Linked DNA regions of Homo sapiens: regions 1 and 2 are each linked to region 3. Evidence: promoter capture Hi-C in 16 types of primary human blood cells and fetal thymus (Javierre and others, 2016). All regions are on one chromosome and are shown on one strand. The core of a region is centred on a gene start or on the middle of the fragment in contact, and the rest is flanking DNA. Distances in the headings are between cores, read along the strand shown.

Evidence for each region. The method cuts DNA at HindIII sites, captures the fragments that hold promoters and counts their contacts. A CHiCAGO score of 5 or more calls a contact.
Region 1: a fragment that was not itself captured here is called in contact with the fragment with the promoter of FANCB in region 3 in 1 of 17 cell types (neutrophils); the score reaches 8.7 in neutrophils.
Region 2: a fragment that was not itself captured here is called in contact with the fragment with the promoter of FANCB in region 3 in 1 of 17 cell types (neutrophils); the score reaches 5.2 in neutrophils.

What each region holds. Positions count from the first base shown.
Region 1 is chrX:14,698,641-14,702,218 of GRCh38, reverse strand. The region is part of intron 8 of GLRA2 (glycine receptor alpha 2); the gene reads right to left. It also overlaps a transcript of FANCB not described here. Among named protein-coding and RNA genes, the nearest start is that of GLRA2, 170 kb to the right of the region's middle. The HindIII fragment of the contact is 3,669 bases long and covers 1-3,370 here.
Region 2 is chrX:14,719,834-14,723,822 of GRCh38, reverse strand. The region is part of intron 8 of GLRA2 (glycine receptor alpha 2); the gene reads right to left. It also overlaps a transcript of FANCB not described here. Among named protein-coding and RNA genes, the nearest start is that of FANCB, 150 kb to the left of the region's middle. The HindIII fragment of the contact is 1,304 bases long and covers 1,002-2,305 here.
Region 3 is chrX:14,870,483-14,874,677 of GRCh38, reverse strand. It overlaps FANCB (FA complementation group B), which reads left to right and starts at 1,609. Exons shown (of 10, transcript NM_001018113.3): 1 at 1,609-1,692. It overlaps MOSPD2 (motile sperm domain containing 2), which reads right to left and starts at 1,257. Exons shown (of 15, transcript NM_152581.4): 1 at 1,141-1,257; 2 at 920-989. The coding sequence starts at 1,149. RefSeq lists a silencer at 1,290-1,519. The HindIII fragment of the contact is 4,870 bases long and covers 14-4,195 here.

The DNA of each region.
Region 1 (3,578 bases), core at 287-2,786, 170 kb after region 3:
GAAGTCTTCCTTCCTTTTAGGCCCCATGCTTTAGCACTTTCCTGACTCAACTTTTTATGATGTAGTGAAAGCATCATGTCGTTTCTAACATCTGAACCTCTGCATAACCGTTTCCTCAGCCTGGATATCCTCTTAATTTTCCTTTTGACCTGGCAAATTTCTACTCCTGTGTCAAGACCCAGACAAAGGCTCAACTCCCTGGCACTACCAAGTGGAGAAGATGCTTTGTCCTCAGTCATCACTTTAAATCATGCACTTAAACCTTTCCCACAGCACACAACATTCTGCACTGAAATATTTGTCTGAGCCTGTCTACCCCAGTAAACAAAACAACACAAAAAGGACACTAGTTGATACAAGTTTTCTTTCTCATTTAAACATTGAACTCCCTTCAAAAAATCTGTAAAGCAAAACTCCCTTAAGAAGGTCTGTGCAAAACTAGAACTTCAACTAAATTTGGTAACTATAGAAATATAAAGAATCATTGAAATTAAAAGCTAGAGTTAACTGTTTTATTGCAAATAAAGAATAAATAAGTGGGCTAACTGCCACATTTTATTGCTTACATTTATTTCACTTATGTGTAAAATATTCTCCTTTCATTCTCATCTCTTCTTTACAGTATCCCCCTTTCTCTACCCTGCTTGGACCATCACGTGATTCATATTTTTATCCATTCATCCATCCTGTCTGGCAAAACCCTCAGCTTGGATCCAAGATTGGCTTCACGGGCATGCAACCTGTGCAGACACACAGGGTCCATACACAGAGGGGTGCTAGGCTTAGTTTAATGCTCTGCTGTTGCCATCTTGAAATTCTTAATTGTTTTTGAACCAGGGGTTGCCCATTTTTATTTCAGTCAGTCCTGCCTGGATCAATTGTGGAACCCACCATCTGGTTATTCTAGGCTGCTGAGCTCCTCTGGAGAACCTCACCGAATCCAGCACATTGATGCCCCTACATATCCAATTTCCCCTACGTCCGATGGACCCTAAGCCTGCTTGAGAAAACTTCTGTGGGTTCCTGGTGATGTATTTCGCAATTCACAAACATTTCAAAGTTTTCCCACTGTTCTCACACCTCCTACTCTGTCACCTCCCTCTTTATTCTCTGAAAATGAATGTGTTTCCTGTGTCACAGAAAACAATCAGATGCCATCATGTGGGGATTCCTTCAAAATCCTGTCCGCCTACCCACCCACCCACAAACTTGCCATGTCCTTATTCTTATTCCTTCTTTTGTCTCCCAGTTATCAGAAGGAATACCTTCTACTGGGTATGGCTAGTGGCTCCACCTAAGTATGCTCTCCCACCTTTCCTCAAAACTCCTGTAAGTAATATTATTCTCTCTATAAACAACTCTCTCATCAGCATTTAAATGTACTCAAGTTGCTCATTAAAAAAAACACTAAATAAAAAGCAAAAGAACCAACCAACCAACAAAAAAATCCATGGCCTATATGCCTCCTCAGCCACTTCTGCCTCTTTTTCTTGGATAAAATGGCTGCATTCAATGTCCTCACTTCCTCACTGTCCACTTCACTACTACACTGCCTAAAATCTTGTGTCTGCCTCCGTCTCTCCACTGAGCCTGCTGTTGTTGAGGTTACCAATGTCCTCTGACTTCCTAAAATCCATGGCTGCTTCTTAGCTTTTATTTTATGTGAACTCCACATCTTTAGATACTATGAATTTTCTTCCTGAATATGTTTCTTTTTCTAGCCTCTGAGTGATTACATAGCCGTCTGACCTTCTCTGTCTCTCTCATGGGCTCCTTTCCCCCTGCCTGTCTCTGATATGCTGGTGCTCACAGGAGTTTGCCCTCAGCCCTCTGCCTTGCCTTACACTGCCTTCCCTTACACTGCCTTCCCCTTCCATTCCCTCTTCCTGCTCCGTCCCTGCCCCTTCCTGCTCTTTCTCAACCTTTCTCCTCCACTTCTCTTCTCACTCTGTACACTCCTGCTGGGTAATCTTATCCACTTCCATAGCTTTAACCTCCATCTATATCCTAATGACTTCTCAGCATGTCTGTCCAACCCAGTCCTCTCTCCTGAGTGCTGGACTGCCTCATGGACATCGCTACCTCCATCTCTCACATTTCACCTATCCCACACTGAGGGTCATGTCTGTAACTGGGGGTCTGTTGTACAGATTATTGTACAGATTATTTCATCACCCCAGGTCTTAAGCCTAGTACCCATTAGTTTTACCTGATCCTCTCTGTCCTTCCACCCTCCACCCTCCAAAAGACCCCAGTGTGTGTTGTTCCCCTCTATGTGTCCCTGCGTTCTCATCATTAGCTCCCACTTAGAAGTGAGAATGAGTGGTATTTGGTTTTCTGTTCTTACATTAGTTTGCTGAGGATAATGCCCTGCAGCTCCATCCATGTCCCTGCAAAGGACGTGATCTCACTCATATGTGGAATCTAAAAAATTTGATCTCATGGGGGTAGACAGTATAATAGTGGTTATCAGTGCCTAGAGAAAATGAGGGGGAGGGAGAGATGAGGAGAAGTTAGTCAGTGGGTACTATGTTACAGTTAGATAGGAGGAATAAGTTCTGGTCTTCTATTGCACAGTTGGGTGAAAATCGTTAATGATAATGTATTGTATATTTCAAAATATCTAGAAGAGATGATTTGGTGAAGAAATAAGTGTTTCATATGATTGATACAGTAATTATCCTGATTTGATCATAATACAATGTATAAAACCTTAAAACCTCACATTGTACCCCATAAATATATACAACTATTATGTGTCAATTAAAAACAAAATAGAAGAAAAATAAGTAAAAGGCAACTTGTCATTAGGTGGCCCACATGCCATAACCATGTTCTCAAGCAGCCACAATTTCTATTTAGTAGCTGAACAAAAAGAAGTCAGGGCTATCTGGGTAACTGGAAACATTTGAAATTAGGTACAATGCCAGAAGTAAGGCATGGTGCAGCCAGATATAAAATGAAAGTGGGAGATAAATGCAGGTGAGGCTGCATTGTAGAGAAGTTGTTATAACTTCACATGGTGCACATATTTCTTATTGGAGCAGAGGCGATAACATTAAAACAGAGTTTTATTGCATAGACCTGGGGCATCAGCTTCTAATAGACTGGGGTTGGCCAGTTCTGTCAGGGAAGATCTGGGCGTGATTGTTTCTGAGAAACTCTGTTTTGATAAAATTGACAGTGGCTGCTTTACAAAACCTAGAAAAGATAATCAAAGCAAATACACCTAGTTGCACATTGCCCGGCCACTCCTTGAAAGTGACCCCATTTGATAACTTGATTGCTCAGTAAATACCAGACACTCTTCCCATGCATGTAAATGTAATCTCAGGTGTTCTCTCAATAAATACCTTCCCTGAATAAAGCTTAATGCCATTGTCTTTTTGGGAGATGATCTGCTCTTGTTTTTTGTTATACCTTCTAAAATATCAACCTGTATGTTATTTCAGAGGTCAGTTTCTCAGTAGGAAATTAAAGAGATGACATATTGCCTTGGGAATATTTACTTTTTTTTTTTTTTTTTTTTTTTTTTTTGAGATAGATAGAGTCTCACTCTGTCGCCCAGGCTGGAGTAC
Region 2 (3,989 bases), core at 404-2,903, 150 kb after region 3:
TCCTGGTCTAATCTGACAGATAAGAGAAGCTTTTCCCCTAGGAAGTGATATTTCATTAGAGATTTAAAAAATGAGAGGCATTAAAGAGGTGAAGGCAGGGTTTGGCAATGTCTGAGATAGGAGGGTTTGCTGCAATTGAGGGATGCAACTGAGGCCTGGAATACAGGGGGAGTGTGGAGTGAGACAATGTTTCAGAAATGAACCAGGGGCTACATCATATAGGGCCCTGTAAACCAGTGTCTGATGAAGCTTTATTTTGAGAACCAAGGGGAGCCATAACTGGCTTTTAATGGAGATTGCATGACATAACCAGATCAGCATATTGAAATAAATCACTTTGGTTGCCATGTGGATGACTGCCTAGAGGAACGCAAAAGTGAATCCAAGAAGTTACAAAGCTACAGCAATGGTCCAGATGAGAGATGATAATGATTTGGATTTAATGGGTGGTGGTATAGGTAGAGAGCAATGTGCCAACTAGAGACATAGAGGGGCAATCAACAGGTCTTAGAGATGGATTGGAAATTGTCAAGGTTAACCTCCAGCTTAAACCACTAGATGGATATTAATGCCATTCAATGAGAAAGAAGACACCAAAAGAGGATCACATTAAGTTTGGGGAAAATAATACGATTGAGGTGCACTTGAGACATTCGAATAGATACATGGGGTAGGTGATTGATTGCAATGGACAGTCTGTAACTCAGAGAGATCTCAGCTGGAGGCATACACTTGGTTATATTTTAATGCATGACTGGCAGTCTTTCTTTTCAACCCCAAACTGTTTGCAAGACAAAAAATACTGAAGGTGACTTATGCTAAAATCAGCCATTAGCCAATACAGTTAAAATTATTCTTTTAAATACTTTTCAAGTTTTACCCAGATAAGGCAATACTTGTAAATAATTTTGGATTCAGAATAAATCTTTGCTCTGATGCTGAGGATAAAATGAAATTATAAGTATCATTCTGCATGTCAGCTAAGTATTCCAAAGGAAGCTTTATGGAGTAGCCATGGTTTAGGTCAGCTGGTGGGATCCCCTACACTCATTCTGCAGGGCCCTCTCAAACTGGTCTGTGGATAGCATAGTGGCATGTTGGCAAGGCAAAGAGAAGAGAAGCAGTTCCCACTTCTTTCTCCTCTGCATGCTTCCATATGTCATATAGAAGTCACAGACTGTATTATATTGTGTTTGCCAAAGATAGCCACAACAATATCTCCCATCCCATATGCTTTTTTCTTAACAGTATTATCATTGACACTCTTTCCATTGAGACATGGGGTCTGTATCCCCTCCACTTGAGTCTAAGTGGGCTTGTGACTTGCTCCTAATCAACAGAATTTGGTGGAAGTGACACTAAGTAACTTCTAAGTCTAGGTCATAAAAAGTGATGAAGCTCCAATCCTGGTGTGCTTGGAACCATGAGCCACCATGTCAACTGTCTGACTGCCCTGAGACCACCATGCTATGAAGAACTCAAAGTAGCCCATGTGGAGAAATCACATGGAAAAGCCCTGTGAGTACATGAAGAAAGAATGATGCCTGCCCAACTCCCAGCTGTTCCAGCCCCAGTTACTGTCTGACTGCACCAAGAGGAGAGACCCCGAACCACAACTGCCTAGCTGAGATCTTCCCAAATTCTTAACACACAGAAAGTGTGAGAGATAATGAACTGCTTGTTATCGTTTTAAGCCACTAAGATGTTGGATGATTTATTATGCAGTAATAGATAGCTACACAGATAATTGATGCTGTATCAAAAACTGAAATGTTGTGGCATTATCTTTGGGACCAGGCAGCAGGCAGAAGCTGGAAGGCCCTCAAGGAGGTTGTTGGAAGACTGGGAGGAAAGAAAGGCAATTGCTGTGGAAAGCTGGAGGATGGGGAAAAGTTTACCAACATTGTTTCCTGTGGTAACATGGAAAATAGAAAATATACTTAATAAACCTCATCATCTACCTAAGGAGATTTCCAGATAGAGCACTGAGGATGCTGCTTGGCTTTTAGCTGCTGATACCAAACTGAGAGAGGACAAAGAACTGAAGAACAGGCCATTAAGTGTCCAAGTAGAAGTTGGAGGAAATGTAAAGGATCCAGAATAAGTCTTTTCAGCCTGCGAAGGGTCCTCAAATCAGAACAGGCCTCAGGGGAAAAAATCATATACAGGGTGGGACTGTACGATTCTTTGTTAAAACCTGAGAAATATCTAAAGCAGTACCTGATAAGCTCTTTCAGACAGGCAATAGGTCTTATAAGGATCATAAGAACATGCCTTACAGATTGTCTCCTCTAAACAATAAGCTTCTACGAATATTAAGGGTGTTGGGCCACACAGCATACTCACAGGGAGCCTAAGATAACAAGGGCTTATAATTGATAAATAATAATTGTATATATTTATGGAGTATAATGTAGTGTTTTGTTGTGGAATGATTAACTCAAGGTAATTAACATATCCATTACTTCACATACTAATCATTTTTTGTGGTGAGAACACTTAAAATCTATTCTTTTAGCAATTTTGAAATGTACATTATTATTAACTATAGTCACCATGCTATGCAATACATCTCTAAAACGTAATCCTCCTAACTAAAACAGGGTTTATCTTGAAAATATTTGTGAGTATAGCTTTTGTCTAATGAAGTGGATTATAAATTTATATATAAACCCCAACAGTATTTTTTTTTTTTTTTTTTTGAGACAGGGTCACACTCTGTCACCAAGGCTGGAAGTGCAGTGCCATGATCACAGCTCACTGCAGCCTCGACTACCCAGACTCAAGTGATCCTCCTGCCTTAGCCTCCCAAGGTGGACGGGTCATGTGCCACCATGTCTGGCTAATTTTTTTGTAGAGGTGGGGGTCTCACTATATTGTCCAGGCTGGTCCCAAACTCCTGGACTCAAGCAATCCTCCCATCTTGGTCTCCTAAAATGCTGGAATGACAGGCATGAGCCAACATGCCCAGCCCTGCCCCCAACAGTTTTTAAGGAATTGTATGTTTGGACTGAAAACAACAAAGATAGTATAAAATGAAAGGAGGTCTTTAGACTCCTAATCTTTTAAAGACAATAAATAGACTAAAAAGGTTACTCAGTGGCAAACAAGTGCCCCTTCTTATAGAAAAAGAAAGATGTTTCAAATAGCAGAATAAGAGTCCAGAGAGCAGACCCAAAAACTAGAGAGGACAACCAAGGAATATATCCCCCAAACAAGGATCTTCCAACATGGACCTTTCTAGGTCTCAGAATTCCTGTTAACTAGTGACTGCTGTGTGCCTCTTGTTCCCCCTATTTTTGAATGGAAGAGTCTATAACAGTTATCCTCTGTATGTCTCCATATTGTCTGTTGAGTAAGTGGAGCAGATACCTTGTCTCTTTAGTTCCCAGGTTTTCATTTTTAACTGTATCCAAAATGCTTAACCTGAGATGCTTCATTTGACTTACATGATGAGATCCTGAGTTTTGAGCTACATTTAAATTTTTAAATATATTTTAATGGACACATAATTGTACATGTTTATGAGGTAAGGGTGGTATTTCAATACACGTGTACAATGTGTAATGATCAAATCAAGTTAATTAGTATATAAATCACCTCAAAACTTAATCACTGTGTTGTGTTGATAACATTCAAAATCCTCTCTTCTAGCTCTTTGAAAAAAATACAATAAATTATTGTTTACTGTAGTGCTATAGAATACTGAAACTTGTTCTTCTTATGTAGCTGTACTTCTGTATCTGTTAATCAAACTGTCCCTATTCCTCACTCCTTTCTACCCTTCTCTTCCTCTAGTAACCACTATTCTACCCTCTACCTCTATGAGATCTACTTTTTCAGCTCCCAAAAATGAGAAATTGTAGTATTTCTCTTTTTCTGCCTGACTTATTTCCCTTAACATAATGTCCTCCAGACTCATCCATACTATTAATGACAGGATTTGATTTTTTTAAGACTGAATAGTACTCCATTATGTATGAACACTA
Region 3 (4,195 bases), core at 360-2,859:
AGATGTAGAAGCTTAACTCCTTTCACAGTAACCAAAATGACAACTGAGGCAAAATATTCACTGAGAATCCACTATATTTTAAGACATGCTAGATGGTTTATGTTTTTTTAAAAAATTTAATCCTACTAACTTTATTATTTGCACTTCACAGATATGAAAACGGGCTCAGAATAGACAAGTAAGCTATGTAGTGGCAGGGTTAGGATTACAATCAATCTTAAGGTAGGCAACATATAAATCCTTATTTAATTCCATATTTACAATAAGTTATTCCGTATGTTTTACAAAATTACTGTACAAGCATTAAATATTCAGTTAAGTACCTGACAACTCAAGTATCTGTGACATCTGGACACAGAATGTTCAACCAATAAATCAATTCTGGACTCATAGGTACTTTGCAAGATACAGTTTGGGATAAGAACTTGTTCCAGCATTGGAGGGCCTATTTTGTGGGTAGCATGCTGGGTTGTATGAAAGCCAAATCAAACAAAATATCCAAGGAATTTGTATACCCAATTAAGTACACATCAATAGTATTATGGCAGTTTCCAGGTACATTTTCGCTAGTGTTGCTGGTGAAAGGCCAGCAGTGGAACCGTGGACTGGACAATGTCACCCGTGTTGTGGGCCTAACAAGTATCCTGCAAGTTCCATAAACACGAGGGCATGCTAAAAACTTAACCGATTTCCAACTTACATTAACCCTTTAAAGGGAGCATGGGACACACCACTTGACCATTTGAAGCAGTGCACACGGCTTGTCATGGAGAGGAAAACCTTTGAGACGTGCCCAGCATCATTCCTGTGAGGGTCGAAAGGGTCCCTAACACCTCCCACAAATACACTCACAAACACTCCAGCAAAGTTGGGGATGCTCACTGCACACCTTTCTTAATACCTGGAACAGAGTACCCACCTGTCACATACTCAGCTTCGAACCTCCTCCGGGTCTCAGAGATGAGCTTGGCTTTATTCTGGGCGTGATTCTGGATGGGAGACACGATGGGACCTTAGATACTACTTGCATCAACCCGCTTACCCTCAACCCAGCCCACCTGCACACGGGCGCTCGGTCCCCGGGCCTCAGAGGCGGCTTCCGGGTCCGGGGGGCCAGCGGCGGTGCAATAGGCTCCTCACCTCTGCCATGATCACCGTCGTGGATGTGATTGCGGTTGTCGCCGTCGCCCGTTCTACCGTCGCCGACCGAGTATCTCATCACCCGGCAGTCCCGCCCAGAGGTAGACAGAGAAGGGTGGGAGGGGGAGGCGGTCGCGTGACACCGGAAGGCGGACAGAAGCGCCGCCGCACCGCCCAATCCAATGCGGACGCCTGGGTCTGGAGGCGGGACCAGGCCCTCAGCCTAGGTCCCATTCGATTCTCGTCTGGCCTCGCCCCGCGACATCCCCCGCACTGCGGTCCCGCCCCCGCCAGCCGCGAGATCGCCGGCGCTTCCCCCGCGGAGCTCCGCCCTAGAGAGCTCGCGGGCTCTCTGCTTTCACAACACTCCCCAGGGCCCCGCCTCCTCAGCCTCCCTTGGCCACCTCTCCTGGCTGGCTTCTAGGCTCCGCCTCCTCTGCGTTCGACGCAGCCTCCGCCCGGCCTCCCAGGATGCAGCGCGCTGGCGGGAGGTTTGGAGCAGATGGATACCGTATCGACGTGGGGCCTCCGGTATGTTGCCGCTGCGTTGAGGTAGGATGGGGCTGGCGAGTCTTCCCTTCCCAGGACTTCGCAGAGGGGGCGATGGGGCTGGATTTCCTCCCCTTGTCCCCGCATTGCGGGAGAGAGGGAAGGAAGCGGGCATCCCGAGACCTGGGTCTGTCATTCCTTGCAATGATAATTGGATTTTAAGTGCTACATTCGCTTGAAGTTTTTTTCATCCCTTCAGTATCCTTCCAACTTGGAGTGTGAGATGCTTAATGAGCAAAATATCTCTGAAATCTTTAATCTCAAATAATTATATAAAGTTAAAAAAAGCGTGTTTCGGCTTATTAAGGTAGTTGTGTTCAGCCGGGGGGGTGGGGGGGTGTGTGTGGGGGGGGCGGTTTTACCACCCAGGGGACCTTTGGCAACCTCTGGAGACATTTTTAGTCACCACTGCTAGGGGCCGGGGGCAAAAGAGATGCTCACTGGCTACTAGTGGATAGAGACCAGGGAAGCTGCCAAACATCCTCCAGTGTACATGAAAATTCACAACAGTTATCCAGCCCAAAATGTCAATAGTGTCAAGGTTGAGAAAGATTTAGATTTAAAGGGACTGGAACAAATTTTATTCGTCAGTTAAAAACAATTGAAAGAAAATAGTTGCGCATACAATATTGCCTTTTTTAAAGTTGAAAGATACTGAAAACTACAAACAAGTTGTAAGAATAGTCCCCCATATTTCCATCAACCGTAGTCATCCATGACAGAATGGCATGTTAGCATCTTTTGTCCTAGACTTTTAAATATATTTACATTTTTTATGGGAAAAAATGAACACATTGTTTAAACGTTGTTTGACTACATCCTTAAAAGATATTTCAGATATAACTAAAGTCTCCTTCTACCTCTACTCACCTATCCTGGACACTTCCTTGTCCAGAATCAACAGCATTCAGAATTTGGCATGAAATGTTTACAGTTTTACATTTTTTTATTTTGGATCATACTGCCTGGGTTTGAATCCTGGCTCTGTCACTTCTTATCTGCAAGCCTTTGAGAAGATCCTGAAACTCCTTGCCTCAGTTTCTCCATCTATAAAATGGGATAGTAACAGTGCCTATGTCATAAGGATGTTGTGAGGAAGAAACGAGTTAATCCAAAGTGCTTAGAGCAGTACCTGGCACTGTTTCTTCAGGAAAAAAAAAAAAAATAGTACATGGCACTATTTCTTGAGAAAGCACTCAGGGACTGTAGTCATTGTAGGTAAATAGAACATATATAATGCTGTTTTATTTGTTTTACATAAATAATATGCTGCAGTGTACATTTGTCTGCAACTTAATTTTTAATTCATTTTATTTTTGAAATTTAACCATGATTATATATATATATACACACACACACACACACATATATAGATAGATAGATCTAATTCATTCCTTTTAACTCTTGTTTGATAGTCCATCTATACTCATTCCCCTATTGGTGTTCATTGAGGTTTTTACTTTTTTTATATTGCAAATATCAGCACAGTGAGCTTCTAGAGCAATGTATTCATTCATATGTGGGATTATGTCTCTGGGTTTATATCTACAAATGAAACTACTGGGTATATGCATTTCAGTTGACTGCCAAATTACCTTCAGAGTCATCTCTCCCTTTTATTTAAGTACTCATAATTTTCTTCTAATTGTTAGCTCTTTTTCCAGTCTGATCTCACTCACACCTTTAACACTGTCACCAGGATCTTCATAACTCAAAAGTACAGTCCTGTGATTTCTGTTTTTGAAGTCTTTCAGTGGGTTATCATTACTTATATGAGAAATTTATAAGTCCTTAATATGACATAAAAATCTTCTTTAGCGTAATCTTCCCAAATCCTCTAATTTAGTTGATCACGATTCTCCCGCATTTACTCACATTTCAGGCATATTAGATAATGTTGAAAAAGGTGAGATCAATTCTGTATAGGACCCAATAAATAACTTATGTAGGGAGAAAAAAACTTTTAACAGTGGCCCTATTTTGTAGGAAAGTTAATTTACTTTGGTTAACAATGTCATATGTCTTGGAAAAACAACATCTATCATTATTATCTTCATAAAATTATGTTCAGTATTATTAGGTGCCATTTTAGTTGAGTGTCTTAATTTTACTTTTTTCCCAAGGATACTTTCTCTTGGTCACAGTTAATATGGTTTCTTAGACTTTTTGGATGTCATCTGCTCTTCTAGGATAATCTGGAACCACACTGATAGTTTATTTAAAGAATTGTCACATTTATAGGGCCAAAATGATTTATGAGCATTTAAAAAGAATGAACAACATATTTATTAAGAGGGGGGGCAGTAAAGAGTAGATGAGGATGATAATTTTATTGCCAGCCTACTATTTTTATGTTAGCATATGCTTGTATATATTATCATTTTTCTAGTATACACACACATCTGTTTTAATTTTATGTATAAAATAGATAGTCAACTTTGATGTATGGTAATATAGAACAGGAAAAGCTCAAATTAATTATGTAGTATTTTATAAATAATCTACT